Regions from separate parts of the Homo sapiens genome. Here region 1 is linked to region 2. The links are contacts of gene promoters, found by promoter capture Hi-C in human tissues and cell types (Jung and others, 2019). All regions are on one chromosome and are shown on one strand. Each heading gives the region's core, a stretch centred on a gene start or on the middle of the fragment in contact. The rest is flanking DNA. Distances are from core to core; before and after follow the strand shown. Region 1 has its middle 150 kb from the start of SGCD. Region 2 holds the start of NIPAL4 (NIPA like domain containing 4).

Region 1 (5,760 bases), core at 2,261-4,760, 1.3 Mb after region 2:
GAGCGCTTTTAAAATGAAAGGCCTCAGAAATAAGCTTCAGAACCAAGGTTTCTCTCTGTCCTTTCCTCACTTCCCTGACTCTCTGATCCTCCTTCCCAAAGCACTGAGAGAAACTCTGGAATTTCTTTATCTCACTAAGAAAGCTTATTTTCAAAAGAAATGCATTTGTCTTAAGACCATCTCCCTAGGAATCTCATCAATTAACCAGGAAAGAACAAACAGCAGAGAAGAGACAGAGTCATCATCACATCCAGACAAATTTTTAATTTATTCTGAGAGCAGCTCTAAGAGATTACCTTTGCTCTTGTGCAGTTCTACCCTTTGCCTTCCCCTTAACTTGTCCCACCCAGCTTCCAAAGAGAATCATTTACAAAATAATGTGTGCCTCCCAAATCCATACATCTCTTCCCTATGAAGAGAGTATTTAAGTCTCAATCATCCAGCCCCTCTTCAAGTCTCATAATTTGTGTATGGCCCTCATGTACATAAACATGTTAAAATAAATGTTGAATGCCTTTTCCTCCTATTAATCTGACTTTTGTCAGTTCATTTTCAGTGAATCTTTGGAGGGTAGAGGGTAAGCTTTCCCCTGGCCCCTCCATTATTATAAATGATATTTTAAATTTTCATTTTCTTAATATTTGTAGCTGGAGCATATATTGATTTTTTATTAAAATTACTTACTATAGGAATTTGTCTACAGAGTTTAAAATGTTTTTATCTACACAATCATGCTGTGAATACTGATAAATTTGTTTATTTTTTTGAGTTCTTATGTTTTTTATTTTAATTTATTGCTTTATTGTACTGGCTATGATCAACAGCACAACGTTTAAATGAGATAGGTGGCATCTTTATCTCATTCCCTATCTTAGAGTAAAAGCTTTTAATAGTTCACCATTAAGTATTATGGTTTGCTGTAATTTCTTAGCAATTTTTGTATATGTTTGTGATCAGACTAAGGAAATGCTATTGCAGTTTTTTAATAGTTTTAACAATTAATAGAAAATACTTTTGTGCTCAGAATATATTCATAGAGGTGAAAACTGAAGCACATTATCTTTAAGTTTCCCTTTAAAGATCATGTGGCAAGGAAGTTGCCTCAAAAACTACAACTTCTGACTTCAGTTCCAAGTAAAATACTATAAATATTTCCATCACCACATCTCTGAAGAATATATCCTCTTGTATTTTTTTATAGGTTTGCATGTTTCACCAACTGCAGTATCATAAATAAAAGTTGGGTCCAGGTGCTGTGGCTCACGCCTGTAATCCCAACATTTTGGGAGGCCCAGGCAGGTAGATCACTTGAGGTGAGGAATTCGAGACCAACCTGGGCAACATGATGAAACCCCATCTTTACTAAAAATACAAAAATTAGCTGGGCATGGTGGCAGGTACTTGTAATTCCAACTACTGGGGAGGCTGAGGCAGAAGAATCACTTGAACCCCAGAGGCGGAGAGGTTCCAGTGAGCCGAGATCACGCCAGTGCACTCCAGCCTGGGCAATAGAGTGAGAATCGGTCTCAAAAAAAAAAAAAAAAAAAGTTGGAAAATTATAACATATTCATTGGGGTGAGGAGAAGGGAATATATTACACAATCTATATGGAGGGCAATTTGTGAATATGCATTGAAAGCTTTATCATATGCACATCATTTGACCCTAAGATTTTCTTAAAGTGATATTTTAAAATACCAAACTCAGTAAGTATACAACTATGTATATACAACAAGAATTATTGAAACATTTTTTAATAATACAAAAGGAAACAAAATATCTTGCAATACGTAAATGAATAAATTTATTGTACACCCGTATAATGGGATTTTATATAGCCATGAAAAATTGCATGTAGCTGCACTCATTGTTTTTAAATATGATATCAGGATATAAGATTTTTTAAAAACCAAGCAGCACAGATAGAAAATCATTTTTGTTAAGAAAAAAACTATATGTATATAGTGCAAAAGTACATAGAAAATGTTAATAGTAAACATTTACTTACTTCCCCAAATGTCTATAAAACACATGCTTAGATGTGTATGTTAAAAATAGCACCATAAGGAAGCAATGATGAAAGCAGAAAACAATATTGTCAGTCACATGTCAACAGTCATTTTTCCTATTTTGATTCTGAGATTGTCATTTATTAGCCTAAAACCTACCTTTGATCTTGATTAGAGTATTTGTTAGTGAAAACAGTGACTATGCGTTGGACCTATTAGGAAACTATTAGTGTAAAGTTGTAGGCACTGCTAAAATCTCAAACAACATATATTGGCAATCATTAATACATTCAGGCTGGGCGCGGTGGCTCACACCTGTAATCCCAGCACTTTCTGAGGCTGAGGCAGGTGGATCACCTGAGATCAGGAGTTTGAGACCAGCCTGGCCAACCTTGTCTCTACTAAAAATACAAAAATTAGCCAGGCATGGTAGCCCATGCCTGCAATCCCAGCTACTTGGGAGGCTGAGGCAGGAGAATTGCTTGAACCCAGAAGGCAGAGGTTGCAGTGAGCAATCTCTGCTTCCATCAGAATGCCATCGTTCTATAGAAGGGGAAAACTAAGGCCCAATGGGTAAGATTTATCATTTGTCTATAAGATAAAATTATATTGAAAGCATGTGTAATATGTAGAACAAATAAAATAAAATTAACCTGAGATGCATATGTATAAAGACTCATAACTCTAATTTGTAAAAGAGATTTGTTGTGAGCATTCTTATATTCGTATAGTCCTGCTCTGAAAGCACAAAGAACTTCAAGCATTTGGCATGCATGATTAACTGACATTATAACAGAACAGGTCAAGCTGTTTTCTTAGAAATCTCTCTCCACGCTGACGCACTCGAAGCATTATCAAAACAGCATTCTCTTTAGTTACGATTCAGTTACACAAAGGGTAGACAGACAGTGCCCAACTTATAATGATTCAACTTATGATTTTTTTTTTCACTTTGGGGTGGTGAGAAAGCCACATGCATTCAGTAGAAACAGTACTTTGAATACCCACACAATCACAGTTTTTCACAGTATGTTATTCAATAAATTACATGAGATATTCAACATTTTATTATAAAATAGGCTTTCTGTTAGATCATTCTGCCAAACTGTAGGCTAACATCAGTGCTCTGATCACACTTAAGATATAGATTAGGCTTAACTATTATGTTCAGTAGGTTAACTGTATTAAATCCATCTTGACTTCTTATATTTTCAATATACATTGGATGAAATCCCATGGATTAAGTCCTCATCCTTAATGCTGCCAAGTGATTTAAAAAAATTCATTTTCTCTGTATCTTGTCAAATTGGTCAATGCCGCCCATTAAACAAATATTGGGTATTTTTAAGACTACCCTACCTAACAAGTCTACAGCAACAAAAATTAGATCCCTGGTTTTGTAGGACTGGGAGACTGTTTAGAAAGGAGGGAATGGACTGCAAAAAGACTTAAGGACTCTTTTGGGGGGTGATGAAAATTTTCTGTATCTCAATGGTAATTTCATGTGGGGATATGTTTGTCAAAACTAATAGAATTGTACACTTTAAATAGATGCAGTACATTGTATATAAATTATCCCTTAATATAGCTCATTAAACAAACAAACAAACAGCTCCCGAGATGCACAGGACCCTCAGGAGAACTGTATAATCAAGTAACAACTTGAGTTGCTGTGCCCATGTTTTCCAAGGCTTACATTTGCAATTTCTCTAGCTCAATAAGATAAACCCAAAAGCCACTTTTCAGACCATCAAGGTATTTTCCATTTTAAATATTAATATCTCTACCATTTAGAAAAGATTTACCTTGATCCCAGCACACAAGGCTCACCAGAAAAATTTTTTAAAAATACAAAATTGGGCCAGGCACGGTGGCTCACACCTGTAATCCCAGCACATTGGGTGGCCGAGGTGAGTGGATCACGAGGTCAAGAGATCGAGATCATCCTGGCCAACATGGTAAAACCCCGTCTCTACTAAAAATACAAAAATTAGCTGGGCATGGTGGCGTGTACCTGTAGTCCCAGCTACTCAGGATGCTGAGGCAGAAGAATCGCTGGAACCCAGGAGGCGGAGGTTGCAGTGAGCCGAGATCACGTCACCTCACTCCAGCCTGGGCAACAGAGCAAGACTCTGCTTCAAAAAAATAAATAAAAAATAAAAAATTACCTTAATTTGTTTTTGTTTGTTTTAGAGCTGGCATTCAAATTATCTGTTTGAAGTATGTATTCTTGTTTAGAGAAAAACTAGGGGTCCCTATGTCTTTTAAAAATCCTCATCCCTGACAATTTGTCACTTTGTAATTTTCCAAAACTGAAGGCAGATAAAGAAAAAATGGAGTAGACATTGGAAGAGAAAGAATATTTTTCAGAGATATTTAAACTACAAAAAACAAAATCGCAATTTACCAACAATTTTTCAGCTGTAATTATAAAACATATTGTTAGAGTCTTTTAGAGCCTGCAACAGAGGATTTTAAAAAGCACTCAGACTTCTAAAGTTCTGTGAAGTCAGTCAGAATAATTATTATTTTACATTGAATGATAAACATATGAGCTCTTCACCACCTTCTGAAAGTAAACAAAGCAGCACACACCATTTTCTTTAAAAAAAAATCACAAACACCTAAGATACTGAAACTAGATAGAAATTAGGATTTCAAAAATGGAACAGAGCTTCCTATGGGAGAGAAAGAAATACTTTTTTTGTCTTTTCAACATTTTTAATCTCCTAGCATATCAAAAAATGGCATAAGGTTTTCCTTAGAGATATTCCTAACCTATTTTTTCCCATTCTTCATATCTATAGTACGTTGCTATTTGAACGAAGCCTATAAGCCAATAACTTGAGGCACCTTGCCCTTAGAATTGACTCTGGCATATTAAAATATAAAAACTAGACAGTTTTGTCTGGCTGGGGTTGATAAAATAGGAGAACGCACTACTATTCAGTAGATTCAGTCATGCTCCTAGCAAGTACTGTGGCCATGATCACCACACGCACACAAACACACACACACACAAACACACACACACACACAAAGTATATTAGCTGAGTTCCATACTGCACTACACTAACTTAAAACCAAGAGAAACTTTGAAAATCGCAAGCAACTTTCTGAATGCCATTAATCTGGCATGGAGCAATAATTCTACTTATTCTATACCAGCCAAGTAACTTCTTTCACTTACTCCAAAAATAAAAAAAAAAAGATCCACAGAAAAATAGCCGCATGTATGCTTATTTAGGTAAGAATGTGTCCACCTGAGGTGATCATAAATCTTTACTCCTTAATTTAGGGTACCGTAATTTTGTATTCTTAAAATATAATCACATTTACTTTTGTTATTATTGATTAGGACCATCACAATTATATTAATTGACCTTCATCAGAAGTCAAAATAACAGCATGTCTTTCTAAAAGCCCATGACTTCCAAGTGAATTTATTTGGAGTATATTTCCATTTTTCTTTTATGCACAAGTAGTTACTGACTCCCTATTTTTCAAAAGATAAATTAAAACTGGAAACTCCTTATTGTATTTTATTTTCCACTGAGTAACAATATCTTAGAAAACATTTTCCTAGGTTAATTATTATACTTTGCATAATATTCTTTGCAAGAGGCTAAGTAAAGAATGGGATTGATAAAAATTGGCTCTGAGTGTAGAACAGAGATGAGACTAAGAGGTAAAATATGGTGTAGTTGGTGATTTGGTAAATGTTAAGGTACACGAATATTTTTTTTTTCTA
Region 2 (6,391 bases), core at 728-3,227:
CAAGAGTCTTATCTGGCTCCTTTCAGTAATTTCTAGCACGTGCTTGGCCTTTGTAGGCATCTGAGTTTGTTACCTCTGGAGGTAGCCTTTTTCAAGCTGTGTGTCACCAAGGCCCAGGTCCCTATGCCAAGGATGTAAGCCTCAACCAAGTATTTCTCCCACCAACCTAGAACTCCCAGGCAGTGCCTGGAAGGGCCCCAAAGTCCATGGTCAAGCAACTCTGGCTCTGGCACATCTGCAGGGCAGAGTGGCATCTTGGTGGAACAGACTAAAGGCAATGTTGACCTTTCTTCCACGACACAGACCCATGAATAACAGAGCTTGAAGAGCCCTTAGAAAGCAGTCTAAATTCTTATTTTTTCTGGGGAAACTGAGGCCCTGAGAAAGGGAAGAGCTTGCTTAAGTCACCCCAACATCTGGTGAAAGATCTGGATCCAGCACCCACTGGGGCACATCCATGTGTCTTTTGCAGTGTGATATCTCTCTTTCCAAAACTCGTGTCACAATCAAGGGAAGATGAGACAAGAGGCATCTCAGTCCCTAATCAGACTTGTTCTGCACTGCTCATTCCTGTTTCTCCAGCTCAGGCTTCCTTGCCCAAGAGCTGAATCTGGGGAGTTCCCTGAGCCCAGGAAATGAGCCAGAACCTGGGAGAACATGGGCTAGGGGAGGTGACTCCTGAGAGGAAGACCAAACTCATCCCCACGCCCTTCCCCTGCTCCCTGAAGGTGCACCTCTAGCAGATGGAGCCAACGAACCCTCTGTGGATGGACTTGGCTGTCACAGTAAAGCCCGCAACACCCAAGGGCTGAGCATCCTCCATTGAGTCAAGTTCTCCCACTGCAGTGAAAAGTAAAAGACAGAGGGCTGATGGCCAAAGTAATCCAATTCTGAGCATGGGCCAGATGATTCCTGTTATCTCTTCCAGAATATGCTAGGACTGGGGAACACATTCTGGCCTAGAGAAAAGGTGAGGCTGAAAATGCCTGCCTTGTTCAGGAAACCAAAGTCAGACACCTAACAGGCTGGCTTTGAAAGCTTCACTGTAGAAGGGAAGAGGTTAGAGAAACAGGGACATGCCACAGCCTGCAGTTCCAAGACAAGGTAGGAAAGTGGAGCCACACCAAGGAAGGAGTTGAGGTTTTACTGTCCACCAGCCTTGGATCTATATTCCATTTCCTCACTGTATTACCTTGAGCAAATTATTAGCTGCTCAGAGCCTCAGTTTCTGGATCTTTAGAGTGGGGATAGCAAGATAGTAAAATAATAATACCTACCTACCTTCTAGAGTTGTTTTAAGGATTCAGTGAGATAATGCGGGTAAAGGGCCTAGTCCACTACCTGCTTTATGGTCAGAACGCAATAGGAAGTCAGGGGTCTTTCTTTACCCCTTCCTGTGGTTCTTTTTCTTTTCCAAAGACAAGACCGTCCTGTGATGGTCCTCCCATTGACCCAGAGAGAAAGCCCAAACTGCGCAGGTACTAAAACCTGAAGCAACTACACATTAAAAACACAGAATCCTCCCCCCGCCCCCACCACCTCTCAGGGTGTCTGCTGTCGTCAAAATGCCTGCCCCCCACTAACCCCCCATCTCAACCCAGGGGACATACTTTCCTTCCCTGACTCCTCTCAGCCATCCCAGCTGCGAAGATGAAAGTGAAGTCTCAGCCAGAACCCAGATCTTCAAAGCTGGGTGGGAGCCACCTCGTGCTGGCCCTGCCCCTCCCCAGCTTTGGCCCCCCTGGGAGGAGAGGATGCGAGGGAGAGCGGTGGCAAGGAGGGGAGGGCGCGAAGCGCGGAGCCCGCCTGGTCCCCAGCCCTGCCGTACGCACCGTTCTCGCAGCTGGTGTTGCTGACCCGCAGCTCCATGGGGCCCGGGGCACACGAACCGACGCGCGGGCGGACGGCGCCCGGGCTCCCCAGCTCCGGAGCAGGTGGCCGCGACTTGTCCCCCGCGTGGCTCGCGCGCGAGAAGCCGCCGGGGTCCGGACCCAGGGGTGGGGAGAGTGACGCGTCCCAGAGTGGGAGAGTCCCCGGGGAGGAGTCACCCGGCATCTTGGGCAATTCCGGGGGCAGGGGGCCCAGGGCTGGGGCCGCCCGCAGAGGGGCGCATGCCTTCCTGGGGTGAGGACGCTGCCAGGCTCCCAGCTCTGGAGTCACCGCCCCGTGCTAGGGGCAAGAGGTGAGGAGGCGGGTTCCCCGGCACCGCTCCTCCGATGCCTGCACCGGCACCCAGCTCCATCCCCAGGGAAAGAGTACAGGGGACCTAGATGGCTGGAGAAGGGGCAACTTTCCTGCCGAGGTGGAAGTGGCAACATAGGGGTTGGAAGTGGGTACTGCTGCCAATTGGGAACCTGGGTTCCTTCTTTTCCTTCCTTCTCGCCCTCCTACCCTCCCCCTCTCCTTCCTCCCCTCCACCTTTCCTCCCTTCCTTCCATTTCACCCTCCTGCCCTTCCTCCCTGCCTTCTGCCCTGCGACCTCCTTTCCTTGCCTTACCCGTTCATTGATTCAACCCAGGTCTGATCTGTGCTGGTAGGTAACAGGTACATAGTGAGTTAATGCTCAATATATATTTATGTCTAATGAATAGATAATAGGAGCTTGGTAAATTAAATGAAAGAAGGAAATGAAGTGATTGGAGACCAAAATGAGTCAGACTATTCCCTGTCCCCCAAGTACCTTATATTTTAATGGGGGAAACAAAATGTGATCATCTCTTAGAGACCAATGTTTTTGAAATTACCACTTTAAAATTATTTATACACACACACACATACACACGTTGTGATGGAAAGCATATTTGTTACTATGGGTAACAGTAAAAAGCAAGTTAGAAAACCACTGACCTGGAGCATAAAAATAGGTATGTAGAGTTTGCTATAGGCCAGGCAGAGTTCTAAGTGCTGAAAAATTCCAGTTCATTTAATCTTCATGACCGCCTTATAATGTACAGACTTTTATTATTTACCAAAAGGAAACTGAGGCACAAAGTGCTCAAGTAACTTGCTGGGGATCTCAGCTGAGAAGCAGAAAAGCCAGGATCAAACTCGTGCTGTCAGTGGTCACATTAAGCCGCCTGGCATTTTACACTGAAATAAACTGCTCCTGGGCAGTGAGGGTGTGGGGCTACTGAGAAAGCAGTGATTGGTTCTGCCAGTGGTGCTCACCGGCTTCCTGGAGGAGGCAGCTTTTAAGAATTGTTATGTATGGAGTCGTCAGCATGGGCCAGACACTGTGCTAACCCCTTTCCAGGCACTGTCTCATCGAAGCCTCCTAGGAGACAGATATCCTTACTCTTTCCATGCTACAGATAAGAGGAAACTGTTATTTTTAAAAATTTTATCATGAGATAATTTTAGACTTATAGAAGAGTTACGAAAATAGTATAGAGAGTTCCCATATACCTGTCACCAGCTTCCCTTAATGTTAACATCTTGTATAGGAATAGAAAAAACTGTCCTTTAAATACTCTGAGACACTTGCTCCCAAGGTTGCACAGCTAGTGAACGAGGGTGCCAGGTGTAAACCGAGCTGCTCTGACCCCAAGCCTGTCCTCCTACCTACGACCCTCCACTGTCTACTTGCGGACCTCTAGCTGGGCCTCTAAGGATGGGTTCTCCCAGCATGGGGCTTCCTCTAATTTGCTGGATGACTTTAAACAAGTTGCTTACTCTACATAAGGATCAATTTCTTTGTCAAATGCAACAGCCCCTTCTCCAAGGGGTCGGGATCGGGTTGGGGAAGGGAGAGGTTAAAAGAGAAAGGGAAATGTGAGACACAGCAAATGTAACAAGCCACGTTTGCTCATTTTACTTGCTGCATAATTTCACAAGCCCTTGATTCTGTAATGATGTGCACCTCTCTGGAAAAATGCTTTGAAAACAAAGCAGGATACAGCACAAGGCCCCCACAACTTTTGCCTGAGACACTATATTTCTTAAAAGATAAATGACCCTAGACCTTGCCTATTCCTACACATAGGATAATGTTTGACAAGGTTAGTGACTATGCCTCTATCATCTATAACCAGATATACTCTTGCACCCAGACTTTCATGTGATTCTGCTTTACTGTAACTTCTGAGCAAGTTTGATGTAATGTTTGAGCACATACTGCACTTCTGCTACGTGTATATCAGCTATGAGCTAAAACACTGTTTCAGAGCAGTGGGACAGGACCTCTCTGAAAGACTCCTCCCAGACTTTGTCTTCAGTCTCTAGTCCTCAGTAAGACTTCTGCTTTTTTTTTTTTTTTTTTTTTTGAGACAGAGTCTCACTCTGTTGCCCAGGCTGGAGTGCAGTGGCTCGACCTCGGCTCACTGCAAGCTCCGCCTCCCATGTTCAAGCGATTCTCCCACCTCAGCTTCCGGAGTAGCTGGGATTACAGGCGCCCACCACCACGCCCAGCTAATTTTTGTATTTTTAGTAGAGACAGTGTTTCACCATGTTAGCCAGGCTGATCTCAAACTCCTGACTTCAGGTGTTCCACCTGCCCCGGCCTCCCAAAATGCTGGGATTACAGAACCTCAGTAAGACTTCTGAATAAAACTAACTTTAATTCCTTAAAAGCTTGATTTTCTTTTAGTTGACAGAAGTCATAGCCATTGCCAACAGAATATATCCAAGTCTGCAGGTGAGTGTGCCCAGGCCCGCCTCTAACTTTGGAGGTGTGTGGTACCACCGTTCAGGTAGAGGGGAACACCTCCAAGACTATATGAATTTGAACACAGAGCAGCAAGACACTAGATGATTGGCCCTATTCGGAAGTGAGACTTCATGATGAAAAAATATATGCATCCATGCTACCTGCAAGGGAGAATTTGACAAGAGAATTCAACTTATCTTTCTCTTCTCTAAGCATTTCTGCTGTTCAGCTCCTCCTTGTGCTATAAAACGGAGTCAGCACTGAACCTGGAGTGGTACAGTCCTCAAACCCTCACTGCATTCAAACTTGACTGCTTTTATTCCAAGAACATAGGGTGAGAGATTCGGAGTATTTCCCTCTGGTCTGACCTTTTTTCTTCCTCGCTTTATTGAAGTATGACTGACAAATGAAAGTTATATATATTTAAAATGTACAACATAATGATTTGATATAGGTGTACATCGTGAATGATAACGACGATTAAGCTAATTAATACATCTATCACCTCACTTAGTTATATTGTGCGTGTGTGTGCATACATGCGTGTATGTTGAGAACACTTTAAATAGTGGCTTCTCTTAGTGGCCTTTTTGAATCACAAGAGAGGATGTTTCAGATTGTAGTTGCCAGAGCTAAGCCCAGATCCTGAGAGACAGATGCACATATATGTTCTTTAATGCATTTATTTTTGTATGTGTTTGTGATTTGTGGAACCTCTAAATTTTAGGGTCAGGGAAGGGGCCTCCTTGTCAGGGGTTAAGGGCAATATTGAGTTTATCCTATGCTTCAAGACCGGCCTTTTCAGAGTCAGGAGAATCTCATGTTTTAGGGCAGTGGCATGAGGGGAAGGAGGCTAGGATCCACTGCAGGGACTTTCACAACCTCACTGGGCCTCAGGCTCCCCATCTGTTCTAAAAGGGGGCTGGGCCTCAACAGGGCTGGCATCAGAGCATCTTGCCAGTGTAGACATAAAGGGCCCCATTGAACTGCAGTCTTCTCGGCTGCTTCCTGACAAAGCCCTTTTCTCCTCTAGCCACAATGGCCCTGTCAGGCAGGTAGCAGGGCCTGCAGCTTTGTCTCCCCAGAAAAGAACAACAGGGTTCACTGTCTGTTCCAGGCTCAGTCTCCCTGAGGAGGGTGGGTGGCTTACGAAGGGTCTAACAAGCCAGGGACAGATGGGTTCTGCCCTTAGCCAGCCAGCGACTGGTGACCCAGCCGCAGCTCTTTCGGTCAGTTATTCTGGGATGAGTAGGAAAACAAATTCACCAAAACCCAAGTTTTTAAAAACTTGACTTTTCCAAGTGCATGTCCAGATGTTTTAGGTTACAGAGCTGTGCCGTCCAATATGGCAGCTACCAGCTGCATGTGGCTTTTGAGAACTTGATGAGCCGCTAATCTGAATCGTGATGTGCTATAAGTAGAAAACAGGCTCAGTTAGCATTTTGGACTAGATCGTTCTTTGTTGCTGGAGGCTGTCCTGTGCTCGTAGAATGTTTAGCAGCACCCCTGGCCTCTACCCTCTGGATGCCAGCGGCACACACACCCCTGCACCCCGACACCCACCCCAGTTTTGACAATCAAAAACACCCCCAGACAATTGCCAAAATCACTCTGGGTTGAGAACCACTCAGATTTCAAAAACTTAGTAAGGAAAAAAAAGGAAAATCTCATTAATGATTTTTAAATATTGATTACATGTTAAAATGATAATATTTTGGATGCATTGGGCTAAGTAAAAACATTATT

What was found. Contacts are between HindIII fragments. The study calls those that stand out against the background at their distance.
Region 1: a fragment that was not itself captured here is called in contact with the fragment with the promoter of NIPAL4 in region 2 in 1 of the 25 tissues and cell types used here (H1 embryonic stem cells).

What each region holds. Positions count from the first base shown.
Region 1 is chr5:156,175,408-156,181,167 of GRCh38, reverse strand. It overlaps a transcript of SGCD not described here. Among named protein-coding and RNA genes, the nearest start is that of SGCD, 150 kb to the left of the region's middle. The HindIII fragment of the contact is 4,498 bases long and covers 1,262-5,759 here.
Region 2 is chr5:157,455,799-157,462,189 of GRCh38, reverse strand. NIPAL4 (NIPA like domain containing 4) reads right to left here and starts at 1,977. Exons shown (of 6, transcript NM_001099287.2): 1 at 1,833-1,977. The coding sequence starts at 1,869. NIPAL4-DT (NIPAL4 divergent transcript) reads left to right here and starts at 2,090. Exons shown (of 3, transcript NR_136205.1): 1 at 2,090-2,182. RefSeq lists a silencer at 1,924-2,083. The HindIII fragment of the contact is 8,008 bases long and covers 315-6,391 here.